Linked DNA regions of Homo sapiens: all the other regions are linked to region 4. The links are contacts of gene promoters, found by promoter capture Hi-C in human tissues and cell types (Jung and others, 2019). All regions are on one chromosome and are shown on one strand. The core of a region is centred on a gene start or on the middle of the fragment in contact, and the rest is flanking DNA. Distances in the headings are between cores, read along the strand shown.

What was found. Contacts are between HindIII fragments. The study calls those that stand out against the background at their distance.
Region 1: a contact is called between a fragment that was not itself captured here and the fragment with the promoter of DNAH1 in region 4, in 1 of the 25 tissues and cell types used here (IMR-90 fibroblasts).
Region 2: a contact is called between a fragment that was not itself captured here and the fragment with the promoter of DNAH1 in region 4, in 6 of the 25 tissues and cell types used here (dorsolateral prefrontal cortex, heart left ventricle, liver and 3 more).
Region 3: a fragment that was not itself captured here is called in contact with the fragment with the promoter of DNAH1 in region 4 in 1 of the 25 tissues and cell types used here (spleen).

The regions. Positions count from the first base shown.
Region 1 is chr3:52,164,564-52,167,986 of GRCh38, reverse strand. No RefSeq gene overlaps it. Among named protein-coding and RNA genes, the nearest start is that of POC1A, 12 kb to the right of the region's middle. The HindIII fragment of the contact is 3,344 bases long and covers 361-3,423 here.
Region 2 is chr3:52,182,045-52,185,028 of GRCh38, reverse strand. No RefSeq gene overlaps it. Among named protein-coding and RNA genes, the nearest start is that of ALAS1, 15 kb to the left of the region's middle. RefSeq lists an enhancer at 1-510. The HindIII fragment of the contact is 5,026 bases long and covers 1-2,984 here.
Region 3 is chr3:52,146,040-52,149,174 of GRCh38, reverse strand. It overlaps POC1A (POC1 centriolar protein A), which reads left to right. Exons shown (of 11, transcript NM_015426.5): 5 at 2,080-2,187. Among named protein-coding and RNA genes, the nearest start is that of POC1A, 6.8 kb to the left of the region's middle. The HindIII fragment of the contact is 3,176 bases long and covers 117-3,135 here.
Region 4 is chr3:52,315,013-52,318,050 of GRCh38, reverse strand. DNAH1 (dynein axonemal heavy chain 1) reads right to left here and starts at 1,732. Exons shown (of 78, transcript NM_015512.5): 1 at 1,506-1,732. RefSeq lists a silencer at 112-341 and an enhancer at 280-1,218. The HindIII fragment of the contact is 24,079 bases long and covers 1-3,038 here.

The sequences.
Region 1 (3,423 bases), core at 783-3,282, 150 kb after region 4:
CAAAAAAAAAAAAAAAAAAATCTGCACAACTCATAACTGGGAGTATTATACCCAGAAGGCTTTGCTATGAGGTATCATTATCCTATCAGTAATTTTTTTCTTCTAATTTCACAGGAAGCAGGAAATTATTTACGGTTGGAGTGGATGCAAAGGTGACACATAATAGCTTAGAAGGCTAAGTCCCTTGTTTTACCAGCTGTTTAGGCATCTTTGTACCCATCCTTGATTTGGAGAGTCTGACCTTGACCAAATTCTATCCCTCAAAACTGGCCCTTACAATCTCACGTTATCTGCCTCTTCCATGACAGTCCCTGGGCCTAGAGGGAGGGTGCTTGTATAGTTGAAGCGGTGTCATTGTCTGGGGAAATACCCGAGGTTCGTTGAGAACAAAGACGTGGAGACACACACACAAGCGTGCACACAGAGTGGATTTAAGAGTGGACAGTTTAATAGGCAAAAGAAAGAAGAGAGAGCTTCCTTGTTCAGAGTAAGGGGGTGCCCAAGTGGGCTTCCGGGCTTGGGGCAAGACGCGGTTGATTTTACAGACAGGCTTGACAAGGCAGTGTTTGATTTACATAGGACCCCGGGAATTGGTTTGACCAGGTGTTCTATTTGCATAGCCTGAGAAGAGACTGGCCATCCCACCTTAATCTTTTATTATGCAAATGGGCCTTTACCTGGCCAGCGCCATGACACCTGCTGAGGTGGGTGGATCACCTGAGGTTAGGAGTTCAAGATCAGCTTGGCCAACATGGTGAAACTCCGTTTCTACTAAAGATACAAAAAATTAGCCGGGTGTAGTGGTGCACGCCTGTTAATCCCAGCTACTTGGGAGGCTGAGGCAGGAAAATCGCTTGAATCCGTGAGGCAGAGGTTGCAGTGGGCCGAGATTGCACCATTGCACTCCAGCTTGGGCAACAAGAGCAAAACTCCGCTCAAAAAAAAAAAAGAAAGTTTATTTTGCCAAGGTTAAGGACATGCCTGTGACACAGCCTCAGGAGGTCCTGATGACATGTGCCAAAGGTGGTTGGGGCACAGCTTGGTTTTATACGTTTTAGGGAGACATGAGACATCGATCAGTACTTGTAAGATATACATTGATTTGGTCCAGAAAGGTGGGACAACTCGAAGCAGGGAGGGGGCTTCCAGGTCCTAGGTAGATCAGAGACGAACGATTGCATTCCTTTGAGTTTCTGATTAGCTTTTCACTAAATACACAATTCATTAATATATATGAAAGAAGGGTAGAGGAAATAGTCACTTATGCCTTAGTGCACCTGGCCACTGCGCCCGGCCTCCTTTTCTTTTTAAAATCTTTCGGAGAAAGCATTTTAGAAGAAAATGAGACTCTGGGCCGGGCGCGGTGGCTCCTGCCTGTAATCCCAGGACTTTGGGAGGCTAAGGGGGCGGATCACCTGAGGTCAAGAATTTGAGACTAGCCTGGCCAACATGGTGAAACTCTGTCTCTACTAAAAATACAAAAATTAGCCTGTATATGTGGCACACACCTGTAATCCCAGTTACCTGGGAGGCTGAGGCAGAAGAATTGCTGGAACCCAGGAGGCAGAGGCTGCAATGAGCCGAGATCGTGCCACTGCACTCCAGCCTGGGTGACAAGAGCCAGACTCTGTCTTAAAAAAAAAAAGAAAAGAAAAAGAAAAGAAAAAAGAAGAAAAAGAAAATAAGGCTCTGGTCTCAGGTTTCATCTGATCTCTCATTGGTAGGATGGTTTATTCCTAGAGGGGTAGGTCCCACGTTATTAAGAAAGATCATTTTTAGCAGGCTGTGAAGGCTCATGTCCTACGAAGAGAAAATAGGGGGAGGAAGGGAGAAAAACAACAACAACCGAACAACAACAACAAAAAGAACAATCCTGGAAAACTGATATAGGCCATATTACCCTGAAGTCCATACATTGGTAGGCAGGTATGAAAGTGGCTTATGTATGTAAATAGGTTGCTGCTATTTTGTTCTGAAGTTTAAGTTGTCTAGCTTCAGTTCACAGGGCTTTAAGAAAGCACAGCTTAATTTTCAGTGATTTCAAATCAGAGAAAATAGGGGAAAAAAGGAAAAGAAAGAAGGAAAAAAAAAAAGGAAAGCATTTTGGAGACTTGTAGCCAGGACAAATTTAGAATTCAGTCCAAACTGTAGAAAATAATAAAAATTGAAAAACATTAGGCAAGACTAGAATCTAATAACAAGTGTACTATAGTTTATCTTGAAACATAATTTCTGTCTCTCTAGTCCCCATTTTCACAAAAGACAAATCATGGTAGGATTGATTTGTCTGCAAAAATAAGCTTTAGTCTTATGCTTGGCCTGATTATTTGTATAAAGTGCAGCAAGAATAACTATTTACCACATAGGATCTTTTTGTAATTGGCTTTTATGGAATTTTGTTTTATAAGGAATCTCAGATAAGACTTTTTTAAAGCCTCGAGCCCAGCCCTGAGTTTGTGCAGTCAAATATTAATACCTATGTGAGTTTGGGTAAATTTGTCTACTCTTGAGGTCCCAAGATAACTTGGGGCTCCTAAGCCTGTCAGAAAATGGCATTCTTTACTTACCACAGGTCAGGAACCCTGTACAGGTACTGTATAGACAAGGTGCCAGTTTTCCTTAGGGGCTTTATTGGCTGTATAAGTCAACTTTGATTCCTTAAAGGAGTGTGTTTCTGTCTGAAAGCATGCCATTCCAGTCAAAGCCTTGATAAAGTAACCAGTGTCTCCAACTGTGTCCTGTTACAAAAGAAAACAGATTCTTATTGCACTTACGCAAATAAATATATAGCGTAAGTTAAGAATACTCACAAATAGTTTCCAAATTTGGAAAAAATCAGGTAGAGAGAAATATGTTCCAAATTTTGTTTATAGCAGTACACTTTACTCAATTGTTAAAAGCTGCAAATAGCTCAAAACAGGGCCAGGTGGGGTGGCTCATGCCTGTAATCCCAGAACTTTGGGAGGCTGAGGCAGGCGGATCACTTGAAGCTAGGAGTTCGAGACCAGCCTGGGCAACATGGCAAAACCCCAGCTCTAATAAAAATACAAAAATTGGCCGGCATTGTGGCTTACGCCTGTAATCCCAGCACTTTGGGAGGCAGAGGCGGGCGGCTCACGAGGTCAGGAGATTGAGACCATTCTGGCTAACACAGTGAAACCCCATCTCTACTAAAAATACAAAAACAAAATTAGCCAGGCATGGTGGTGTGTGCCTGTAGTCCCAGCTACTGGGGAGGCTGAGGCGAGAGAATGGCATGAACCTGGGAGGCGGAGCTTGCAGTGAGCCGAGATCGCGCCACTGCACTCCAGCCTGGGCGACATAGCAAGACTCCGTCTCAAAACAAAAAACGAAAAAAACAAAAAAACAAAAATTAGCTGGGTGAGGTGGTGCACCCGTACTCCCAGCTACTTGGGAGGCTGA
Region 2 (2,984 bases), core at 195-2,694, 130 kb after region 4:
TTCACACATGGCCACATGGCCAACCACTCTGGTCATAGGGATAGCAGCACCTTGTGACAGTTAGATACATGGTGTAGTCACAGCGTGCCTCGGGGGCTGTGACCTTGTCACAGAGGCACACATGTGCAGCCATGGTGTGCCATGATTGGGACGTCATCATACATAGGGTCACACACACGGGCTGAGCTGTGCAGGGCCGCAGGGTTGCTCTGCTTCACCCCTCACCTCCACCTCCCTACCGCAAGTGCAGCCTGGCTCCCTGGGATCGTGATCCCTTCCCCTGCGCTCATTCCTGATGAAGTCAGGACTATCAAGAGCCCCTGACTGGCCCTCCCTCTGCCTGCCTCCTCTGTGGCCATCCTGCTCAGGTCTGTCCCGATGGCTCTGTACACCCCTGAGAACTATTAAACTGACCAGAGCGTGGACCAGGGAGATCCCAAGGGCATGAGAGCCAAGCTGTGTGACCATAACAGTCATGTCTTGTTTCTGGACCTCAGATTCTCCACCTGTTTTTAAAAAAAATGTTATTGATGTATAATAGTTGTACATATTCTCCATCTGTTAATACAGGCATAGACCTGGTGGTTTCAAGGCTCTTCTGGCACCCGTGATGAGGAAAGCTGTGATTCTGTGGCCCCTCTGGCATTTCCTGGACCTTCGGGCTTCTGAGTCTATTTGAACTTCATGGCCAGGTGCCTCTCACTAATGAAAGGGCCTCCACTGAGATTTCCTTGGGAACAAAGGAGAGCTCAGTTGTTCTTGAGGCCTCAAAGGGGCCCCTGAGGCAGGCCTGATGCCCGGCTGTGTGCAAGGACCAGAGGAGTGGCTGCCCAGCCTGGAGGCAGGTGCTGGCTGGACTGACCTCCTGGGACCCACTTAAGCTTTCTACAAACAACACATCATCTGGGCTGAGTGGGGGGTTCTCGGGGCAAAAAAAAAAAAAAAAGTCTTCTACGGAAGCTGCCTTGTGACTTGGCCCTGAGCTCAGGCAGGGTGGGGACCCTGAGCACCAGAGAGGTCATTGTTCCGTGAAAGCCAAGGCGGCAACCCCTCCCTCTTCCCCTTCTTGTGCTTGGAACCTCCAGACCCCTGGACTCCCAGGGGAGCCCAGGGAGTCAGTGTATGAGGTGCTGAAGCCAAGTCCTTCCAGAGCTTGGGGGAAGGTCAGTTGGTTTATAAATCACCTGAATTTCATCAGGGTCACCATGGGGGAGCTTCATGCATTTTTCAAAGGGCAGTTGTTGGGTGGTCACTCTGTGTTAGGCGCAGTGTAGGAGCCTGGAGAAATAAACCAAAATGTACCTGAAGTAGCATTTTTCAGTGTGGTCTATGTTCATGAAGTGGTCTCTGGAAAAAATATTCCATAGTCAAGTAAGTTAAGAAAGGGTATTATATAATTCACTTGGCCTGAGCAAAGGTGACCTGGTTTCTTTTTCGTGGGATTTGGAGAAGCTTTAAAAGGCAGTGTGTTTAGGCTGGGCTTGGTGGCTCAAGCCTGTAATCCCAGCGCTTTGGGAGGCCGAGGTGGGTGGATCGCCTAAGGTCAGGAGTTCAAGACCAGCCTGGCCAACATGGTGAAACCCATCTCTACTAAAAATACAAAAATTAGCTGAGCATGTGATGGCGGGCGCCTGTAATCCCAGCTACTCAGGAGGCTGAGGCAGGAGAATCGCTTGAACCTGGGAGGCAGAGGTTGCAGTGAGCCAAGATGGCGCTACTGTACTCCAGCCTGGGTGACAGAGCAAGACTCAGTCTCAAAAAAGAGAGAAAAAACAAAAAAAAAGCTGTGTGTTGAGAGAACTTAGGGGGTGTGAGTGCAGGAGCCTCATTTCCCACATGCAGCTGACCACAGAACTCATTCTGCTCATAGCAGCTATCTGGTGGGGTCTGGTGGGGTTGGAGTTCTCCAGGAGCCCTGCAGCAAGGCTGCTGGAGGGGTATAAGCCATCCCTGGAGGGCTCCTGTGACGCCATCTCTGTGCCCTGCCCCTGGTGTCCTGATTTAGCAGGGCGCCTGAGAATCTGCATTTCTGCAAGTTCTCAGGTGCTGCTGTTGGACCACACTTGGAAAACCACTGATCTATCTCAGAGCAGCCAGAGTGATCTTTTAAAAGCTAAGCTGCGTGAAGTTCCTTCTCTGCTCAAAGCACCCCCAGGGCTCACTGTCACTCAAGGTAGAAGCCAAGTTCTTACAGGAGTCCACAAGGCCCACCGACCTCTTTGACATTCACTCACAACTCACTTTTCTGTCCCTTAAACCCACCCTGCAAATCCTCAAGAGCACCTCAGGCCTTTGCTCCCTTCTGCCCATAATGGTCCTGCCCCAGATGTTGGTGGGGCAACCTGTTCCCATCCCCCAATTCCTCCACCCCTACTCTTGTACCCCTGCCTGCCCTGGCAGGGCAGCCTGTTGGTCACATTCATAGATGCACGCCCTGAATATCTCTCAGATACACATAATCTCAGGCCCACAGGTGCCCAGAGTCACAAACACCTAAGCAGCTGGGCTCTCACACAGGAGGACACAGAGGGGGCTTTCTGGTCCCATATACATCTAGCACCTCGGGAAGGGGTTGAGAGGGAGCTGAGGTGTCCAGGCTGGGGCACAGGGGAGTGACTCTGTGGGCAGCTGTGTGCTCTGTCACTGGTTCCATGAACCTTATCAGCGCTGCCCTCATCCTAACCCCGGAGCACTCTGTGTTCTTGATGCATCTGCACAGAGGTCACGGCAGCACAGATGAACTTAGCTCACCCAGCTGCCCACAGTGACCCCGATAAGCTTGCAAGGCATCCTGTGGCAGAAACCAGAAGGTTCTGAGTTGGGCAGGAAATAGGGCCAAGCCTGTCTTCTCCACCCCAACCTCCATTGGCCCTGACCTGGCTTGGGGATGACCCTGGTGGGTAGCTGGGGGGGAAAGGTTTAGCTTAGGCCTGTCTGACTGCCAGATGCATGGGTGTTATGGAGAGGGGATGGGGGAATGTCAG
Region 3 (3,135 bases), core at 455-2,954, 170 kb after region 4:
CCCTGGGGGTTGGGGGCTGGCCCAGGGGCTGCTAGGTACCAACTTATGACCTCGGGCAAGTTACTTAGGCATTGTTTAAGCTTCCTCAGCCTCGGTTTCCTTATCTGTAAAATGGAACAATAATAGCTCCTGCATTGTAAGTTGTCGAGAAGCTTCATGGAGCTGATGCATGACATGTAAGTTAGTCCATAGTCAGCCATGATGACCCTCTGACATCTGTGTTGGCAAAGCACAAACTGGGTCAACAGGGGCCATTTATTATCAAAAACAATTAGGTACTTTCAGTACTACCATTACACATTTTCTTTTTGTTCCTTAAGACAGTTCTGCAAGCTAGGTGCATTTCCATTTTGCAGATGAGGAAATGGGGGCTCAGAACAGTAGTATCTTGTCCCAGAGCACACGGTGGGTCTGTGGCAGAGCTGGAGTTTGAACCCAACTCTCTCTGACAGTAAGGCTTGCCTACTTTCCTCTGGGATGTTCTCAGGGGATGATTTTGCTCCAGAGCTCCCAGATGGGGGCGCAGGCTTCGGAGATGGGGGGCTTAGCCTGGAGGCTAGCCTTCCTGCTGGCCAGGGAGCCAGTGCTGTGCAGACAGCGGGCCAGGTAACCCAAAGGACCTTTCAAGGTCCAAGAATTGCAGACAGATAGTCCTACTTCTAGCTTATTTCATTCCTTTCAACAGAGCTTCCCCATGGGTCAAATATCTTTGCTTCAGAGGAAGGGGTTGGGGTGCCAGGTGACATTAGGAAACCACATGAGTCAGAAGTTGGGGACTATTGAGCTGTGTTCTTCTGGGGACCCCATACAAGTTACTGTTCTCCAGGGCACCCCCATTCCTTTGTCCTGGGAGACCCCTGATGGCTCTTAGAGGCTTTATGACTAGGGTCCTGAGATCAGGAGGGGCCAGGCCAGCAAACTGGGGTGTCAAGTCCATACTGGGCCTTTGGTGGCAGTCCCCAGGACCTCATGCCTTTTGTTGGCAGATTGTGTCTTGCTGACCCGCACTTGAGTCAAATGTAGACTCGGAGGACCTGGTCCCAGAGTAATGACACTGATGGTGAGCTTTTGGCCACCTTTATGCAAATGTTGCCGGCAGGCAGTCGGCTGCATGTTGCCATGTGCTGTGCGTCAGGGGCAGTGCTGGGGCTTTATGTGCATGAGGCTGCTCTGTGCTCACTCGTGAGGCAGGCACCTTTTTTTTTTTCTTTTCTTTTTGTTTATTTATGTTTGGTTTTCCTCTAAGTCAGGAAGAATTTCTCTTTTTCCCTTTTGGTCAGAGTTTGCTGTTGGGATGGGAGAGGGGCTATTTGCTCATGAAGCTACGTAAGAAAACGAAAACAAGAGCAACAGGAAAGATCAATAAGTTTCACAGATTCAGGAAGAAAAAAATAAAGGAAACATTTTTATAACATTTAAAATTAAGTCATAGGCCGAGCTTGAAGGTGCATGTCTGTAATCCTAGCACTTTGGGTGGATGAGGTGGGAGGATCCTTTGACTCCAGGAGTTAGAGGACCAGCCTGGGCAACATAGTGAGACTCCCATCTCTACAATAAAATAAAATAAAATAAAATTAGCTGGGTGTGGTGGTGCACGCCTGTAGTCCCAGCTGCTCAGGAGGCTTAGGTGGGAGGATCTCTTGAGCCCAGGAGGTAGAGGCTGCAGTGAGCTGAGATCACACCACTGCACTCCAGCCTGGGTGACAGAGCAATACCCTGTCTAAAAAACAAAACAAAAACAAAAACAAAATTTAGTCACAGTTTCCTGAAAAACTCTTCAGAAGGAAAAAAGAAAAATGATGTGCTAAAAGTTAACTATTTTCAGAAACAAAGTATAATTTAAGATATGACCAAATAAACAGAAGTAACATTGCCTCCTAGGATGCAATGCATTTGTTCCTGAAAAGACAAATTAGGGTATTCAAATTAAAAAAAAAAAAATCACAGCAGGGCATGTGACCCCGGGTGGTTCCTGCAGGCAGATAGTAGGCACTCGGGGAAGAGTGGCTGTGGAAGAAGGTGTGTGGTGCCCATGTCGTCTGTTAGTCTGTGATGTGACTTGTGCCCCACCCGGTTCAGGTTCTCCCCCGACGGGCGGCTCATCGTGTCTGCCAGTGATGACAAGACTGTTAAGCTGTGGGACAAGAGCAGCCGGGAATGTGTCCACTCGTATTGTGAGCATGGCGGGTGAGTCCCCAGATGCTGTCCTCCACCTGTAGGCGCTCAAGCACAGAGCACAGACCTGGGCATGAGGAGGCCCAGTGGCCTTCAGTGGCTGGAGCCGTGGGACCAGCAGCCTTATCACTGCTGCCCCTTGTCTGGTGCTTTTTGCGAGGTCTGGCAACCTAGCATTGTATCTTTTGCTGTGTGGATGGAAGCTTTGGCCCCATCCCACAAATAGCAGGAGTGCTTAACCTCAAGCCATGCAATTCTTTGGAGCTGTGTAATTATTTGTGCTCCTCTTTTTCTCCTTCACTTTCTGGTTGTCAGGATTACAACATGTCTGTCTGGCAGCAGTTGACACTCAGTCGCCCAAACTACATTTTAAAGCCTCTTGGTATGTTATCCATGATGATGGCTTTACAAAATTCTTGTTGGGTTCTTGTAGCAGATGGTGGCTGTTCATATTGTGCCACATCATCAGGAGAGAGAGGTGCCTACATTTGAGTAGAGACCCCAGCTTCTGCCCTTCTTTGTTGGGCTGGGAGCCACAAGGGCTTCTCCTTGAGAGGTGGACATGGTACCAGCCTGGGTATCACATATGGGTGTGGTGAGGGTCCTTGGCCTGTCTCCTAGAAAGGGGTGGGCCAATGGCCCTGTAGTCCTGCTGGACCTTCCCACCTGTGCCTCAGCTGGCAGGATCTGCCCTGCAGCCACCCCTGGGAAGGGTACCAGCTCCAACTTTGAAAATCCCAGGGGAGCCTGGCTAACTTTTGGGTTTGAAGATAGCTCTCTCAACTTGTATTGAAAATTGGCGGTGGGATGTGCTCCCTGGTCAGTCCACCTTAGTTTGTTGCTGGCCACTGTTCTCACCTTTTACTTCTTCTTGCTCTCCCTTGGCCACCTGGTAAACAAGTGTGACAGAAAGGAGGTGTCTGGGTCAAGGGAACAGCGTGGGCAGGACACAGGGATGGG
Region 4 (3,038 bases), core at 483-2,982:
GCACCTCCCTTCTTTCCCCCTGGCCAAGGCTCAGCAACCAGACTCCTGGGAGACCCCATTCCCCACCCTCGTCCACTCGCCCTCCGCGCCTTTTCGAGGTCCCGCTGCCCGCGCTGGCCCCGCAACCCCTCCGCCTCACCGACGTACCGGTTCCACCGAGCAGTGCGGGGATGCATCAGCCCCGTCTCTAGGGAGGGACGCTAGGCCGTTGCTAAGGGGCGGGGCCATCCGGCACCGCAGGGCGGGAGCTTCCGTCCGCGAACCTCCCCAGCCTGAACCCTTACCTACCCACCAACTCCAGGTCTCGGTTACTTCCGCCCAGGACAGTGGGACTGGGATGTTCCAGCATATGCCCCGATCGGCAGGATTAGGGCCGACCAGGGAGCGTCACTCTTCTAGGCTCCATTACCCACCCATCTTCCCTCCTGTGCCCTTTTAGAGTAAGCAGCGAAACAGCTAAATGCAGCGTGAGAACTTTGATTAAATCCTGATTTAAATACATATACATATGTAAATAATTTGGGGAGGAATAATTGAAGAAATTTACGAACTGGAAGTTGGCATTTAAGCCACAGCTGCGGGACAGCTGGTCAGGGCACTGAGGAAAAGGTGGGTTCTGGTTCTCCTGGGGCTTGGCTCACAAAGCCACACCCACCCATTGCACGGTGACTCCACTCAGGCCGCCGCTTCCGCTGGGCAGCGGATGCGCCCGACACCCCTCGGCTCGGGCGCCCACCCTCTGATGCCCCTCATCTGCTCTCAGCACCTGGCATGGGTTCAGGTTTTGATCTTCCTGCCCTATTCTGAATATTGAATTATTGTTAATTTTCTTAGATGTGATAATGCTACTGTGGTTGTATCAGACTGTCCTTAGTTGACGTGGCCTGAAGTGTTTGAAGAAACACGTCAGAATGTCCGCTACAATTTCCTTTCAAATGGTTCAGCAAAAATTATACATATAGGTAAGCATAGCTAGATAAAAAGACAAAGAGGAGATAAAGCAAAAGTGCTGCAATATAACAATTAGGGAATCTGAAGGTCACAGATGTCCATGTACTAGTCTTCCAATTTTTTCTGTAAGGGAAAGAAGTGGTTTACAAACCAAAAGAACCAAAAGAAAAACATCACCCCATCTGTACCTGAGAACCCCTGCCCACAGCCTTCTCAAAACTGGCCCCATTTCACAGATGGGGAAACAGACTTGCTGAGACGGTTAGTACTAGGGGAGGTCATAGGCCCTGATGTTGAATTTTACTTGGCATTTTAGTCGTGCTGGCTTGGTGCCAGGCCTGTTGCTGGGCACTAAGTGTCTGGAACTGAACTGGACCCTATCCCCACCATAAAGTGTATTGAGTGGGAAAGATGGAGAGGCCAGGCCATGAGGAACCTAGAGGCAGGGTGTAATCTATGCCTGGAGACAGTGGTTCAGCCCTTGCACAGGCTTCTGCTTCCTCTGTCTAGAACCTGTCTCCATCCACTCCTGCATCTGGCGGACTCCTACTCACCCTTCAAGACCTGATGGTGGTGCAACCTTTCCTGAATCCAAACTGTGGTTTTATTTTTCTTGTTGGCATTCACACAGGTACTCAGTGATCACTGCAGAAGGAAGAAAGGACTGTGAGGGGAACTGGAGGCAAGGTGTCCACAGCTCTTAGAAGGGACAAGGACTCCATAGCCCTGTTTAGGGCAGTCTGGCTGCTCAATGGGTCTGCGTATAGGTTGGGTACCCCCCTTGGCCTGTAGAGAGGCACCTGCTTCCCTGCTTTTGCCTGGCACTTCCCACACTAGGTACAGCTGTCCAAAAAGCTGCAGCATCTATCCGGGTTGCCATGGCAACATCAGCCTATGGTGGGATGTCAGGGATGAGAGGGGCAGAATGCTAATCCTGGAAAGTTGCCAAGCAACACAGTGGGCTGGTGACATCACAGGGGCTGTGGCTGCTGGACAGATGGACAGGCCACAGCTGAAAGGGTCCACTCTCAGGAGGCCCAGCTCACAGAACCACTCACTGCTTACCATGTGATGGTCACTGCTGTTTCTCCCAACTGGAGAATGGACTTGAGGGGTGGGGGTCGGGGGTGCTGCTTTTACCAGCAGCCCTGCCAGCTCCACTTCGCCCCTCTTCAAGGGCGGGCTGTGGATATGACTGCCTCCCTCCTCCCTGGAAGGACACCGTGAGTCAGTCCCTGTTCTCCTGGGTCTCAGGGGCTACCCTCTAATGTGCTGTCTTCTCCCATGGCTGCGCAAGGGTTCAGGCTTTGGTCTTCCTGCCCTGTCCTGAAGGCCACCATACTTACCTTGCTCCCTGGGAAAGGAGCAGGGGGCTGAGCCATGACCCACTGGACTCCTGCCCCTCTTGTGATGGGAGGGCCATCTTTTGCCCTGAATAAGCTGGAAGAGAGGTCAGCCTTACCCTTGTTGAAATGGGAGGACTAGGTTTCTACAAGAGTTGGGGAGTCACTGCCCATCTCTTACTCAGATCCCCCTTGCTGAGGACTCTGGTGGCCTGGAAGCTGGGGGATTGGGGCAGATGGGCTGCTTAGGATGCCCTGGCCCAGGGCCATGCCTTTCCAGCATGGAGTCTGAGGTCATGGCAAGTCTGCACACCCCCTCCCCTGTGTCTCCTTGCTGGCTGAGATGGGAGCAATGCTTCACTGGCTGCAGAGATGAAAGCCCCTTGTGAATGGGCAGCAGAATGGGCCCTTCATGTGGCTGGCCAGCCAGAACGGAAGGTGACAGGCATCCAGACTGAGTGGCTGAGCTACCCGCTCCCCACCTGTCCCCAGCCTCCCTCTTGGGCCCCCAGGATCTTCCTCTGATTTTCTAGGCCTGGAGCTCTGAGCTATGCCACAAGAAAGTGAGTTGCAGGCATCGGGGGCGGGGGGTGTCAGAGAAGGGAATGGGTGAGGTCTACGATTCACTGCCTCCCCAGGCCTCCCCGACATAAGCCTCCCTGCCATTGCTCAGCTGCCCTCAGCAGTTCTGACCAGCATAATCATTTCTTTGATGAATAAAAATGGAGAAAATTTAATTCTCCT